Regions from separate parts of the Homo sapiens genome. Here regions 2, 3, 4 and 5 are each linked to region 1. Evidence: promoter capture Hi-C in 16 types of primary human blood cells and fetal thymus (Javierre and others, 2016). All regions are on one chromosome and are shown on one strand. Each heading gives the region's core, a stretch centred on a gene start or on the middle of the fragment in contact. The rest is flanking DNA. Distances are from core to core; before and after follow the strand shown. Region 1 holds the start of DOCK11 (dedicator of cytokinesis 11). Region 2 overlaps UBE2A (ubiquitin conjugating enzyme E2 A). Region 3 has its middle 1.6 kb from the start of SOWAHD. Region 4 holds the start of STEEP1 (STING1 ER exit protein 1). Region 5 overlaps SEPTIN6 (septin 6).

What was found. The method cuts DNA at HindIII sites, captures the fragments that hold promoters and counts their contacts. A CHiCAGO score of 5 or more calls a contact.
Region 2: a fragment that was not itself captured here is called in contact with the fragment with the promoter of DOCK11 in region 1 in 1 of 17 cell types (activated CD4 T cells); the score reaches 8.8 in activated CD4 T cells.
Region 3: a fragment that was not itself captured here is called in contact with the fragment with the promoter of DOCK11 in region 1 in 2 of 17 cell types (non-activated CD4 T cells and activated CD4 T cells); the score reaches 6.2 in non-activated CD4 T cells.
Region 4: a fragment that was not itself captured here is called in contact with the fragment with the promoter of DOCK11 in region 1 in 1 of 17 cell types (activated CD4 T cells); the score reaches 5.9 in activated CD4 T cells.
Region 5: a contact is called between a fragment that was not itself captured here and the fragment with the promoter of DOCK11 in region 1, in 2 of 17 cell types (activated CD4 T cells and total CD8 T cells). The highest score is 7.0, in activated CD4 T cells.

What each region holds. Positions count from the first base shown.
Region 1 is chrX:118,494,316-118,497,177 of GRCh38, forward strand. DOCK11 (dedicator of cytokinesis 11) reads left to right here and starts at 1,500. Exons shown (of 53, transcript NM_144658.4): 1 at 1,500-1,758. The coding sequence starts at 1,657. RefSeq lists enhancers at 838-907, 1,310-2,288 and silencers at 1,318-1,457, 1,568-1,647, 1,738-1,797, 1,968-2,027. The HindIII fragment of the contact is 5,195 bases long and covers 1-2,862 here.
Region 2 is chrX:119,581,842-119,584,861 of GRCh38, forward strand. It overlaps UBE2A (ubiquitin conjugating enzyme E2 A), which reads left to right. Exons shown (of 6, transcript NM_003336.4): 5 at 747-835; 6 at 1,286-2,582. The coding sequence ends at 1,414. Among named protein-coding and RNA genes, the nearest start is that of UBE2A, 8.8 kb to the left of the region's middle. The HindIII fragment of the contact is 768 bases long and covers 943-1,710 here.
Region 3 is chrX:119,755,574-119,758,335 of GRCh38, forward strand. No RefSeq gene overlaps it. Among named protein-coding and RNA genes, the nearest start is that of SOWAHD, 1.6 kb to the right of the region's middle. RefSeq lists enhancers at 539-598, 609-808. The HindIII fragment of the contact is 940 bases long and covers 846-1,785 here.
Region 4 is chrX:119,563,154-119,566,189 of GRCh38, forward strand. It overlaps STEEP1 (STING1 ER exit protein 1), which reads right to left and starts at 2,256. Exons shown (of 7, transcript NM_022101.4): 1 at 2,079-2,256. The coding sequence starts at 2,202. The HindIII fragment of the contact is 697 bases long and covers 930-1,626 here.
Region 5 is chrX:119,687,847-119,690,585 of GRCh38, forward strand. All of the region lies in intron 1 of SEPTIN6 (septin 6), which reads right to left. Among named protein-coding and RNA genes, the nearest start is that of SEPTIN6, 4.0 kb to the right of the region's middle. The HindIII fragment of the contact is 318 bases long and covers 1,303-1,620 here.

The DNA.
Region 1 (2,862 bases), core at 250-2,749:
TAAGATTTGTGACAGAATGTCTTTAGAGGACTTCCAGGTCCCAGGCCCTCTAGGAGCCTCCATATATGCTTTATTGAGACTGATGGGATGGCTGAAATAGGCTTACTGCGAAGAGACTTGGCCTTTTCTGGGTTCAAAGAAACCATCACCACGCATGCCCTTGTTTCCATAATAAAGTCCCCTAAAAGACTGTTTGGTCTTTGAGGGTGGGGAAAGTGCCCGATGGGTGGTGGTAGGACTGCTTTCAGAAGGGCTGCTCGGTCCCCCAGACTGAGGGCCATTTTCAAACTCTCAACAAATGAAATAACCAGATAGAAAACTGCCACCATCAGTGGAGCCTTTCACTCTGCACTTCAGGAGGTCTGACAGGGTCACTAGTACTTCAAGATTCCCGTCCCTATTTCTGTCTTAAGCATGTTCGTTTTATACCCTGTTATGAGATGTTCTTTGATTCTTGGAAAAACAATTTCTTGGAAGCTGAAAAGAGTAAGGAGATGAATAGGAAATGGAGAGGTGAGTGCAGGGCACTTGTAAAAGCTACTATAAGATTGGTAAGTCCACCAAACCCAGGGAGATGGCCTTCCTAATGCCCACCCCCACCCCACTCCTGGTGCAGTCAGTGCTGACCTAGGGATCACCTGCCACAGGCTCATCCTAATGCCCACCCCCACCCCACTCCTGGTGCAGTCAGTGCTGACCTAGGGATCACCTGCCACAGGCTCAGGCTCCACCACCCAGCTCTCCCCCGTGGGGGACGGAGCGAGGGGTGCCGCCACAATAAGTTCCCACTTCCAGAAGCATGCTCTCTCCCCAGTGTTGCCCCCTGTTAGGTGAGCCAACTGAGTAGGAAAACGGTGTGGGCGAGGAGGGGGACCCAGTCGAGCCGCTCACGCTGGAAAGCAGCTCTCTGTCCTTCGACATTGGTGCGACCCTTCCCCAAGGAGCACACAAAAGGCGGCTGCTCCACGTTGTTTTCCAGCCCCTAGCCGCCTGGGCCCTGGGGGCTTGCGGGGTGGAGGGACGTGAGAGTTCTCCAGCCCTCCTGCGGGCACTGCAGCTCGGAGGCGGGAGAGGAGCACTAGGGCGGGAGAGGAGCACGCCCCACTCTTGGAGACATTTCATCACCCCTCTCTGTTCCCCCACCCCACCCCGCCCTCCCCACTCAAGCGGAAAAAAAGAAGCAGCCCAGATCTCCCCTCCCGGATGCGGCTGCACCAGCAACATCAGCTGCGGGCGGAGCCCGAGCGGTAGCCACTTCCCCCCTCTTCCCTCGTGACCCTCGCCCCCACCTCCAGTTCTCCCTCCCCCTCTACACACCCTTCCCCATCAGACACACCCTCCTGCTTCGGCTGGTGGCGATCGGAGCTCGGGCCCTCTAGGGGAGGGAGCTGCCGCCGCCGACGCCGTGGGGCAGGACAGTGAGCGGGCGAAGCGAGCGAGAAAAGGAGGGAAGGAGGGAACGAGGGAGGAGCAGCGGGTGGGAGGTGGGAGGGAGGAGCAGCGTGAGCCGCGCCGCCGCCGAGCTGCGATGTGGCCGGCCGGCCGGCGAGTAAACAGAGGGAGCAGCAGCGGCCGCGGCCGCCGCGGGCCGGGGCAGTGAGTCCACCCGCCCGCCGAGGTCCGCCCGCCCGCCGAGACCCGCCCGCCGCCGCTGCCATGGCCGAAGTGCGCAAATTCACCAAACGGCTCAGCAAGCCTGGCACGGCGGCTGAGCTCCGGCAGAGCGTGTCTGAGGCCGTGCGGGGCTCCGTGGTGCTGGTGAGTGGCCGGGGGACGGGGCATCCCGGGGGACGCGCTCCAGGCGGGAGCGACGCGGGAAGGGGCAGGAACGGCGCCAGTGCGGCCGCTTGGTGCGCCGCGCGCTGTCTTTCTCCGCTCCAGTAAGTTTTCGCACCGGCAGCCGCCGGCCGGGGTCCGAGTCCCAGGCGCCGGCTGACAGCTCTCCGGCCGCCCGGCACGGCGGAGGCGTGCGCCGGGATGGAAGCAGACGGGCAAAAGCCGGGCTCGGACGGCTGCGGAGGAGGCGGAGGCGGAGGCTCCCACCCAGGGTCGGGGCCGGGGGTGTGAGCTAAAGAGCTGACCTCGCGCTGCTCTGGACTCGGCACAAAGAGCCGGGGACAAGGGCACGACGAGATCCTGATCCCCTCCCGCGAGCACCTGAGGCCGCCTAGGCGGAAGGATGCGATGAGCGTTTGGCACACACACTCTCGCGCGCACACATACACACACTGTGTACACAAAAAAGAACCCCACCCAGAAAGCCCCGGGCGCCCAAGCTCGGGCTGGCGGTGAGAACAGAGGAAGCAGAGCGACTTCCTCCTGCAACTGGGGAGAGAGGGTGGTGATGGGTGTTGAAGGGGTGCTGCTGCGGAGGAAGGGCATTAGAAACAACGGGGTTCTGCGACAGAGTGGGCGCAGGGTCATCCACCGCAGGGAGAGTGTGTCCCTCGGGGACACGCGAGCGCTCCAGAGGCAAGGGGACCAAGGGGACGGTGCCGTGGGGATTTGGGGGAAGACTGGGTGTGTCAGTCCAGGGATGGAGGACCTGGGGTCAGAGCCCCACAGCTCAGGACTGGGGGATGGGGATTCGAAAGCGCGCTGACTCCCTGGGAACCCTCCCAGAGCACCCTCAGCCTTATCCAGATTGTCTGACTCTGGAGAAAGGCTAAAGGGTGCTAACGGGCACTTGCCCCTTCTCTTGTTTTCAAGACACTCGTTGCCAGTTTCCTGGACAAGCGAACAAACCCTGAATAAGCAATCGGACTGATTAATTAGTGTTTGTTTTGTTACTTTGTTTTTTGGTTGTTGTTTTTGTTTGTTTTTGTCTCCCTCAGCTCCATTTTACAGCGAGTCGTTTGCTGT
Region 2 (3,020 bases), core at 77-2,576, 1.1 Mb after region 1:
AACAAAATGAAGGATGCTCTTGAGGTTTCCTTTTAATGCTAGGCCAGATTGGGATAGTCTTGTGTTGTAATTATTTTCACTAGCGTTTAGAAAAGTAGTTTTCATTGGACGCATATCAGAATTACTGTGGAACATTTTAAAAACACAGATGCCTTCGCCCCACTCCAAACCTAATGAATAGGATTCTGTTGTTGAAGGCCAGGCATACGGTATTGTCAGAAAAGCACCACAGGTGATTCTAACTTAACCACTTTGCACTTTTTAAAATAGTAGTAAGCCTAGAACAGCTTGCCTTTTATTTAGGTTAATGAAGTATTTTTCAGGGTATCAGATATGTTTATCTTTATGCCAAAATGAAATCTTGTGAACTCTGAGTGATCTTTTGTTATTTCAGATAGGGGATACAGCCTACAAATTTGGTGGAATGAATTTCCCACATGTCTGTGGATAGCTAGGGACCCTGTTCAAAAATGTTTCTGATTTCCTGGATAATAGGGCAGCCTTTTCCAAAGGATGAACACTAAATATCTTCCAGTTTTATACTGATCACATCTGACATTCTCTGATCATCCTGATTATTTCACTAGTGGTGGTTATGACTTATCTTTTTAGGCAGTTAACTGGGAAGCAACATAGGAATCTTTAAACTTCAAAAGCAAAGTATTCTTGACTATTTTTGTTTTGTCTATAATGTTAAAACCTTAGTGGTCTTGTTACGTTTAATGTACCTACTTCTTTGTTCTTAGTCTATGCAGATGGTAGTATATGTCTGGACATACTTCAGAACCGTTGGAGTCCAACCTATGATGTGTCTTCCATTCTAACATCCATACAGGTGAATTTTTCCTTAATGTGACGAACTATAACTTTTAATATGTTTATATTAGCAATTGAATTGTTTTTGAAAGTCATAATGTAATAGATCTTTTTATTTTTGGTCAAAGCTTGTTTGTTTTATAGATGAAAAGTAGACCATTAAGACCCAAGTCAGCTGGGTACAGTCGCTCACACCTGTAACCTCAGCACTTTGGCAGGCCAAGGTGGGAGGATTGCTTGAGTTCAGGAGTTTGAGACCAGCCTGGGCAACATAGTGAGACTCTTCTCCCTTAAAAAAAAAAAAAGCCGCATATATTTTCCTAGCTACTAGCAGATTCACATAACTCTGGGTTTGTATGCTAAAGACAAGAAATGTAGCTGTACTTAGGACAATTCAATTGAGTGTCACTACCTTATAAAATAGTTGTTTTGCATTAAGGAACTGACATTTTAAAAATTGTCTCTTTAGTCTCTGTTGGATGAACCCAATCCCAATAGTCCAGCAAACAGCCAGGCTGCTCAGCTGTACCAGGAGAACAAACGGGAATATGAAAAGCGTGTTTCTGCAATAGTAGAACAAAGCTGGCGTGATTGTTGACCCCGGGTACAGTTTAAAGAAGCTGGCCATAAGAAAAATATATATTGATGTGTTTGTCACCTCCCTACTCCTGTCATTACATTTACTTTATTAAAAGCAAAATAACTGTTGTGCTGTTTCCATCTTCCTTGCCAAGTTTTCCTACCCCTTCTACCCTCTCCTTAAACATCAGAAAACACCCTCTATGAAATCAAATGTACTGTACCTGGGTTACTTGCAAAAATTACTAATGCTTCAGTTTTTCTGTTGTATTTCATTTCCAGTTTTCAGGCAGTTATTTTTATTATTGTACTTTAAGCTTTTAAGATGAATTGTTATACAAGAGGTGCTTATGCTTAGCTTGATGACCAGGATGTTATTTTTAACAAAATGATTGCTGAAGTGTTTCATCCTGGCTGGTCCTTCACTTGTGTTGGATTTAGAAGTGAATGTGTTTGGAATATGGCCTACAGAGAATAGAAACAAATCCATGTAAACAATTTTGAAGGAGGCATGGGAGCTAAAAATCCTGTGATACTAAGATCTCAGTCATATGAATTACAACGTAGTATTTACTGGCAAGAAGGAGAAAGTTGAAGGACTCAGCTAAAGGAGTACAGCAATTGTAGTAACTGACACATCCTCTCTTTGCAAGCTGCTGACTGGGCACACTCATGCCAAGTTTCAGAATTATTGGTCTTCTGGGTTTTTGCTTTTTAAAAGAGGTGTGGGAGCAGAGGAATGGAAACAATCGTGAGTTTTTGAGCTAGGGAAAGTTGGAGCTCCTTTAATCTTTTTAAAGGATCAGTGCTGCCCTAAGTGAATAAACTCAATTGTCCATCTTTATTTTAGAGTTTTAATGAATTCAAGGAAGGGAGCATAGCATATCTGTGGCAAACTATTTTCCACTCAAATCCTGAGTTATTGCTGCATGCTTTAATTTCTTCCCTTTCAGCATCTGAGAACCTTAAAGCCAATGTCTGCGATCTTTTTTTGGATATTTATACTTTTAGATATATAGTACCTTTAAGTAGCAGTATGGGACAAGGCTTGTAAATGTTTTGTCTAATGTTCTATTGTCACCTTTTATGCATTTATCACTTCCAAATCTAACTTTGCACAAGTAACCCATGTAAAAAAAAATGTACATTTTTCAAAAGTTGTAAATAAAAATAACCTTAAAATTTCATAGTCAAGGTATCTTTTTTTTTTTTTTTTTAGCTCAGTATAAACTTTTTGTATTGGTTTCTTATTGGGATCTCATATGTACTCATTTCCCCCCTCAAACATTAAGGTAAAAGCAAAAATACTCATTCTGGGAGGGGAAAAGACAAGACAGATACTTCTGGAGAGAACTTTTTTTTTCTTTCCAGTCATAAGTGGTAATGCTTTTTAAATATATTAACAGAATATGTTGCCGGGCACAGTGGTTCACGCCTGTAATCCCAGCACTTTGGGAGGCCAGGGCGGGCAGATCACGAGGTCAGAAGATCAACCATCCTGGCTAACACAGTGAAACCCTGTCTCTGCTAAAAATACAAAAAGAAATTAGCCAGGCGTGGTGGCATGCCCCTGTAGTCCCAGCTGCTTGGGAGGCTGAGGTAGGAGAATCGCTTGAACCAAGGAG
Region 3 (2,762 bases), core at 66-2,565, 1.3 Mb after region 1:
TGACCTCGTGATCAGCCTGCCTCGGCCTCCCAAAGTATTGGGATTACAGGCATGAGCCACCGCGCCCAGCCGATCTCTTCTAGTTCTAATAGTCCAAGATCTAGTAAATAAACCCACAAATATATTAGAGAGGCTGCTATTTGGAAAAGACATCAGTATTATTACAATTTGCAATGCAAATATCTACTCTACCTCCAGCTTTTTGGGAAGTCATTTCCCAGGGCTTGAGGGGTTTTTGCCCCACTCCCTTGGAGGGGTAGCAGATGTTTCAGATAACTGGCATGTTAATTTTAGGTGGGTGGGTACTATCCCTTCTGTTTTCCACTCCCTCTGCCCTACTCCCTGCTATCAAATTCCTGAGACCCTCTCTACTAAAATAGAGATGGGTGTTGCGGTTCTGGGGAGTGGTGTGTGCAGCTGGTGACCTAGGGTAGAAAGCACTTGCTAATTAAAGATGAAACAAGTTGCTAGGGAGGCACCGTGGCTTTGGTCTCTAGCAGCAGAGTTAAGCAAGGGCACATGTATCATGGGTCTGTGGCACTGGTCAGGCGGCTGCCTTTGCAATCTTTGAACTGGAAACAGATATTATTCATGCTGATAGGGAAGAGAGTTGCCTGCTTAGTGGTGACGAAAATTAATAGTCCAAGCATTCTTCCATCCTGCATTTTCCATGCTGGCATTTTGACTTAAAAAAAAATATTGCTGCAGCTGTTTGCATATTCTGGAAGTGTGTGTGCCTGTGTGCGGTTTGGTGTTTACAGATCTGGGGTTGCGGAGAGGAGTCTCCAGAGCAACGGAAGTAGCTGCTTGTCAGTCAGGATTCATTTTGAAAATGAAAGCCTGAAAGCTTGGGGCCCATTCTGGGCCTAGGCCTGGTCTCTGAGAAGTCAGCGAAGGCCAGGAGGTGGCTTTGGCCAGTCAACTCAGTGAATAAACCACTGAATCTCTTTTAAAGAAAAATGAATTGACCAAATCTATGAGTTGCTTTTGATGTCCTGCAGATTGGAGTCTGGAGCAGGGATGTGGGAGCAGGCATTGAGGTGCTGATTGTGGATACATGTCCCCCGCCCCCAACATACACACACACAATCACATTTTCCCAGCCTGCCAAACCAGAACAAGGTAACAAATATTTCTTGGATAACTACTAGGTGCACAAGGATAGTATGACATAGCTGTCCAAGAGTTTATAGTTTAATTGGCATATGAGAGCAAGGGGAGAGAGATGTAACACAAGGCAGTCTTGGGGCCAAAGAAGTAGCAGAAACACAGGGCTGGGGAAAGAGAGGGATCACTTTGGGCTGGGATAATCAGAGGAGGCTTGCTAGAGGTGGAAACTAAGCGCAACCTTGAAAGAAAAGAACTTCACTACATAGAAGCTCTTCCAGGCAGAGGAGTGTAAGTTATAGATACGCTCACGTTACAAGTCTATCCTTTTGGCTGGAATTTGGGGCTTGTATGTGATTTGCAGTTGATAAGCCAGGCTTGAATGCCAGTTCCTGTGTACCAGAACAAAGGCTATGGTGTCGCACAGACCTGCTCTGCCACTTCCTGCTGGGTGACCTTGAGCAAGTAGCCTAACCTCTCTGCAAACTGGGGACAGTAATGATTCCCAGCACTTGAGGTCACTGGGAGGATTAAAAGAGTTAACATATATAACGCAACAAGCACAGTGCCTGGCACATAGTAAATGTTCAAAACCAAATTACAAATGCATAAACTGTTCTGAAGGAAAGCTCTAGATATTTAGGACTTGTTCCAAATACGTGAGGGCCAAGGAAGAAAAGCTTCCGATACCTTCTATCACTGCTGCCACAGGTGGCCCCGAGGGAGTGGGCTGATTTGGCCTGAGCCTCCATCCCCCTTGGCCTAGACTGCTGGAACAGTCTTCCGACTTCCTGCCTCTGCACCTCCCAAATCACCTTTTTAACACAACCTCCATCATGGCTGTGTCTCTCCCCGGCTCAACAATCTTCTATGGCTCCCCGTTGCTCACTGACTGAGCTCCTTAAGATGCTGGGGGTGTGGAGGCAAGAACCACTATTTACTAAGGGAAGGGAAGAGCAAAGAGTACGCTGGTATTAGGAGTGAAAAAGAAAAAATATCCTTTTTTAAAAAGCCCCTAAGCTTTGAATTTGTAGAAAGCGGGGCCCTGGGGAGAGAGCAGGGATGCATCTCTAAAGAGAACAGGGCGCTCCTGCGGCGCCGGCTCAGATTCACCTGTAGCTGCTTCTCCAAGCCAACCTGGGAAAATTGACGGGAGGGAAGAGGGTGGAGAGCAGGACAGAGAGGGCGGTGCAGAAGGGGAATATCCCTCCTGAGTTCCCTGGAAGAGCGTCAGCCTGGACCCTGGTCTTGGGCTTCTCTGCTGGAATCCTGGGCAGCCCCGGGTGCTGCGGCGAGGGTCAAGGCCACACAAAGGGCAAGGCAGGCAGACGAGCCAGTCACATGGGGCAGTCGAGCTGCCTGCGTGAATGCTAGGCGCGGGACAATGGCAACTCCGGGACAAAGTGCAGGGAGACTCCTGAAGAGATAAGAGGGAAGGGCGAAGGAAGGGGGCGGGGAGCCAGAGCCTCGGAGCTCCAGGACCGCGCTTTGGGAGACCGTGGCTGGAAGCCGAGCTCGGCCCGCTGCGGAAGGGGCGCCCTCGCGCCTCTACACTCTAGCCCCGGCTGGGATGCTGAGAACCGCGGCTTCCAGGGCCGCAGGCGAGCTCCCAGCCAGTCCCCGCGCCCGCCCTTCGGTGCTGGAGGCGGGGCTGC
Region 4 (3,036 bases), core at 28-2,527, 1.1 Mb after region 1:
ACTCTGGCTACTATGTGGAAAAGAGTGGAAGCAACGAGAGCAAGAGACTATTGTGCCAATCCAGGTGAAAGATGGTAGTAGCTTGGACTACAGTGTTAGAAGTGGAGGTGGTAGGCCGGCCGTGGTGGCTCATGCCTGTAATCCCAGCACTTTGGGAGGCCTAGGTGGGTGGATCACTTGAGGTCAGGAGTTCAAGACCAGTCTGGCCAACATGGTGAAACCCCATCTCTACTAAAAATACAAAATTAGCCGGGCGTGGTGGCACATGCCTGTAATCCCAGCTACTAGGGAGGTTGAGGCAGGAGAATCGCTTGAACCTGGGAGGTGGAAGTTGCAGTGAGCCGAGATCGCACCACTGCACTCCAGCCTGGGCAAGAAGAGCGAAACTCCATCTCAAAAAAAAAAAGAAAAAAAAAAAAACTAGCCGGGCCTGGTGGCGCACACTACTTGGGAGGCTGAGGCAGGAGAATCGCTTGAACCTGGGAGGCGGAAGTTGCAGTGAGCTGAGACCGCGCCACAGCACTCCAGCCTGGGTGACAGAGTGAGACTCCCTCTGTCTCAAAAAGAAAAAGGAATGGAGGTGGTAAGAAGCAGTCAGATCCTGCATACATTTTCACGAAAGCACCTGCAGGATTTCCTGATGGACTGGACAGATGTAAGGTACGTGACAGACAGAAGTCAAGACTGATTCCAGGTTTTGGTCTGAGATACTGGATGAATAGTTGTACTACTGACTGCAATAGGGATGACTATAAGAGGAGCAATTGGAGAGGGGGTGTAGAGGGTCATGAACTCAATTTTCAGCACGATATATTTGAGAGGCCCATTAGACATTCAAGTGGAGATGTTGAATAGGCAATTGGAGTCTCAGGAGAGGTGCAGGTTAAAGATGAACATCTGGGAGTTACCAGCATGTCAGTTGTATTTAAAGCTTGGGAATGAATGAGATCACCTAGGGGGTGGGTACAGAGTGAGAACAGGTGAGAGTACTGAGCTATAGGGCCTTGGAATGCCTAAAAGTCTGAGAGAGAAAAGGGAGCCAGACAAGGGGAAAAATCTAAGGCTGGGCGCGGTGGCTCACGCCTGTAATCCCAGCACCTTGGGAGGCCGAGGCGGGTGGATCACGAGGTCAGGAGTTCGAGACCAGCCTGGCCAACGTAGTGAAACCCCCGTCTCTACTAAAAACACAAAAATTAGCCGGGCATGGTGGCGGGCGCCTGTAATCCCAGCTACTCGGGAGGCTGAGGCAGGAGAATCACTTGAATCCGGGAGGCAGAGCTTGCAGTGAGCCGAGATTGCACCACTGCACTCCAGCCTGGGCAGCAGAGTGAGACTCCATCTGAAAAAAAAGGGGGGGGGGAAATACGAGGTAGGAGGAAAATCAAGTGAGTATGGAGTCTTGGAAGCAAATAAAAAACATGTTGCAAAAGGAATGAAATGATTACCTCTGTCAAATGCCACTGACAGAATTAAAATGAACATTGATAACTGACCACTAGAACTGTTAACATGGAGCCAAATACGGTTAAGATGATGAGGTGGGAAGGAAAGCCTACCTGAAGTGAGGTCAGGAGAGAATTAGAAGTCAGGATGCAGAGACAGCCAATATAGGCAACTCTTTTGAGAAGCTTTGCTATAAAAGAAGCAACGAAATGGGGTTATAGCTGGAGGGGAATACAGGATCGAGGGAGGGTTTTATTTTCGTTTGCTGTGAGGTAAGAGCAACTGCAGCATCTTGGTATCCAGCAGAAAAGTTATAAAGCTTCTAGAGGCAGTAGTTTTTGAAGACAGTGGATTAAGAGGGAAATACAATATGTTTGTGTTTCTATTTTTGTTCTCCTGAAGGAGTTTAGTTTTGAGGAAGGTCTGGATACAGAGTCACAAGGCTAAACAAAAAGCAGGAAAAAAAAAAATGCCCTGGAGTGGGGCGGGGATGCGTAGGGAGGATTTAGTCGGAGAGAGAAAACCCACCAATCTTCGTTGAGAAGTGGCTCCCAGATCACAGCCAGAGGAAATTCGCCTTCAAGAACCCGAAGTCTGGCTCCTTGCAGACGCCCCCGCAGTTCCCGGCTACTCACCCAGCACTAGGACCATCTGGCCGCACAAACAGTAGTAAACATGGAGGGGCTTCTCGCCGTCGTCATATTCCTCCCGGTCCCGAGTGTCAGAGCAGACTACTGACCGAGACACTACTTTCGGCATGATTCCCAAGAGCAATCTGAAAACTCTACGCCAAGAAGAGGGTCGCCCCGAAATGACGTCACGAGTGCGCCTTGCACCTTTTCCTTGTGGCTACGCTGGTCACGTGTTAGCAGAAGTCTTATAAACTTCCGGGCTGTCCTATCAGGCTAAGATATACGGGGGTGCGCCTGGAGCCTCCCAGAACCTACTTTGTCTTGGCCAAGTTAGCTGGGACTCCTGTGATCTGGGAGTCACTTCTCAATGAAGATTGGTGGGCTTTCTCACAACACCCTTAATATTATATAAATTCTTTACATTTCTATAACGCATGCATTTATATGTATATATACACATATGTATATATAAGACCAGCTAAATAAAGGACTATGCATTATATAGTTTATATTATATATATATATATATATATATGATACTGATTTGGGTGTGTTTCTAAATATGATTGTGATTTTAATGACTATTCCAGATGAGTACATAATTTTTTAGGTATCTTATTTTTTAGTTGATATAATTCACGTAACATAAAATTCACCCTTTTAAAATGTGTAATTGGGTGTTTTTTAGTGTATTCACAAAGTTGTGTAACCATCACCACTAATTCCAGAACATTTCCATCATCTCAAAAAGAAATCTTATACCCATTAGTAGTCACCACGACCCGCACATCCCCCACCTTCCCAGCCCACGGCAACCACTAATCTACTTTTTATCTCTATGGATTTGCCTATTCTGGACATTTCATATAAATGGAATCCTACAATATGTGGCCATTTGTCTGGCTTCTTTCATTTACCATAATGTTTTCAAGGTTCATCCATGTTACAGTACTTCTTTCCT
Region 5 (2,739 bases), core at 212-2,711, 1.2 Mb after region 1:
ATGACTGCAGATCAAAATCTCATTAGATGATACAGACAAATCACTCTGCTATAATGTAGTTTTGTATTAAGAACACCGCTAACACTCACATTTCCAGGATTTAGGATGTAAAAAGGAAACAGGGCTTATTCCTGCCTTTCATCTGGAAGCTGTGAGAGGGCAGAGTTCCTGCGTGCCTTGGCCACCACTATATCCTCAGCACCTGGCACGGGGCCTGGCCGATCAGTGCCCAGTGAATATGTGCTGAAGGAATGAATGAAAATAAAAGTGGGTGAATTGGCAAATGAAATGTTCCCAACCCAGTAGCAGATGTGAGATCTCACCCACCTTCACACCTACCCATTTCCTATTTGAAGCCCTCAGGAAGCCCTTCCTGTCACCCTCTGCCTCCATTCATTGCTGAGTTAGGTTCCCTTAGTAATGAAATCTCATGGCAGGCAGTCACTCTCCTGTGTAGCACTTATCACAAAGATAATTAGATAGTGATTTGTGTCTGCCTCCACCAGTTCCTTGAAAGAAGGGACCATGTGCATTTGGGGGACATTGTCATTCTGCCCGCTTTTTATTTTGAAAAATCCCAGGCCGGGCGCTGTGGCTCACACCTGTAATCCCAGGACTTTGAGAGGCCAAGGTGGGCAGATCACGAGGTCAGGAGTTCGAGACCAGCCTGGCCAACATGGTGAAACCCTGTTTCTACTAAAAATACAAAAATTAGCTGGGCACGGTGGTGCACACCTGTAATCCCAGCTACTCGGGAGGCTGAGGCAGGATAATTTCTTGAACCCAGGAGGCGGAGGTTGCAGTGAGCTGAGATCGCGCCACTGCATTCCAGCCTGGGCGACAGAACAAGACTCCATCTCGGGGAAAAAAAAAAAAAAAAGGAAAAGAAGAAAAGAAACATCCCAAACACACAGAGAAGTTAGAAAATAATGTAATGACTGTCCAAAAACCCCTCAAATTTAGAATCAACATTTTTAAATATTTAGGGCCATGTAAACTTTCTTCCGTGTTGTATCACCAATAGAGCTAGGTAATAGGGTTTTGTTTTCTATGTTTGAGGTACGATACTACCTTTAGTGGGTGGTGGTAGGAACGCCTGAAGCAGAGACCTCAAAGGGAATCAAAGGGTAACTGCCACGTGATGATAGCAAAACCAGAGTGCAGCAGCAATCTTTTCCCCACCTGAAGACAGTTGCTCTGAGACAGTTGACCCAGACCAACCCCAGCTAACTTTGTAGGGCAAAGTTAGCCCCTGAAAGTTCACTTGGGAGAATGACCACTACCTAGATTGCCACTAGAGAAAGCTTCATTGTTCACATTGTGGGACTAGTTCAAGCCAGAATCATCCAGATGCTCTTGGTATGGGCCGGCATTTACGGTCTGGATCCCAGAATGCAACATTGAAAGGAACAGCTCATTAAAAGAGCCAGCACATGCAGCTTTTGGGGCTTGCCCTGTGCCTTGGTTACCTTGGACAAGTCATGGAACCTCTCGAAATATATATTAATAGCAGCCCAAGCCACCTCATAGTCAGGGGGTGAGGTGGGGCATCACAAGGATCTTCTATAGTTCTTTAATTATTTCACAGTGTCCACAATTTGTCATTCCAACTAGACTATAAGCTTAAAAGCCACGAACTTTTTTTTGTTTTGTTTTTTGAGACGGATTCCCACTCTGTCGCCCAGGCTGGAGTGTAGTGGCACGATCTCGGCTCACTGCAAGTGCCGCCTCCCAGGTTCACACCCTCAGCCTCCACAGTAGCTGGGACTACAGGTGCCCGCCACCACGCCTGGCTAATTTTTTGTATTTTTAGTAGAGATGAGATTTAACCATGTTAGCCAGGCTGGTCTCGATCTCCTGACTTTGTGATCCACCCACCTCGGCCTCTTTTTTTTCTTTTTTGAGATGGAGTCTCGCTCTGTTGCCCAGGCTGGAGTGCAGTGGTGCAATCTTGGCTCACTGCAACCTCTGCCTCCAGGGTTCAAGCGATTCTTCTGCCTCAGCCTCCTGAGTAGCTGTGATTACAGGCACGCACCACCACGCCTGGCTAATTTTTGTATTTTTAGTAGATACGGGGTTTCACCATGTTGGCCAGGCTGGTCTCGAACTCCTGACCTCATGATCTGCCCACCTCAGCCTCCCAAAGTGCTGGGATTACAGGCATGAGCCACCAAGCCCAGTCCGATCACGAACGTTTTTTAAAGCCTGCTACCTTTTTTTGTCCAGTTGACAAGGGCTAACCATAGTGCTGGCCACATATCAGTCAATCAAGTAAATATGGACACAGTGGAGAAATGGTGTTGTCACACCAAACCGTTTGTGGTGTTCATTCAAATGGGACGGACTTGTATTATGTGCACCAGAATTGAACTTCCAAGTTGGCTGCGTGCAATGTAAGCCCTACCCAACAACTTGAAGGCTTGTTTTAGTCACTAAGGATGTTTACCCACAGTGACTCTCAACTGATTCTAGAAAGAACACACCCCCCACATACATACACATACACACACACACACACACACACACACACACACACACACACTAGGGCACTTACTCGCATGGTACCACGTCTCAGAGCTCATTAAAAAGAATTCCTGGCCGGGAGCAGTGGCTCATGCCTGTAATCCCAACACTTTGGGAGGCTGAGGCGGGTGGATCACAAGGTCAGGAGTTCGAGACCAGCCTGGCCAACATGGTGAAAACCCCCCTCTACTAAAAATATCAAAACTAGCCAGGTGT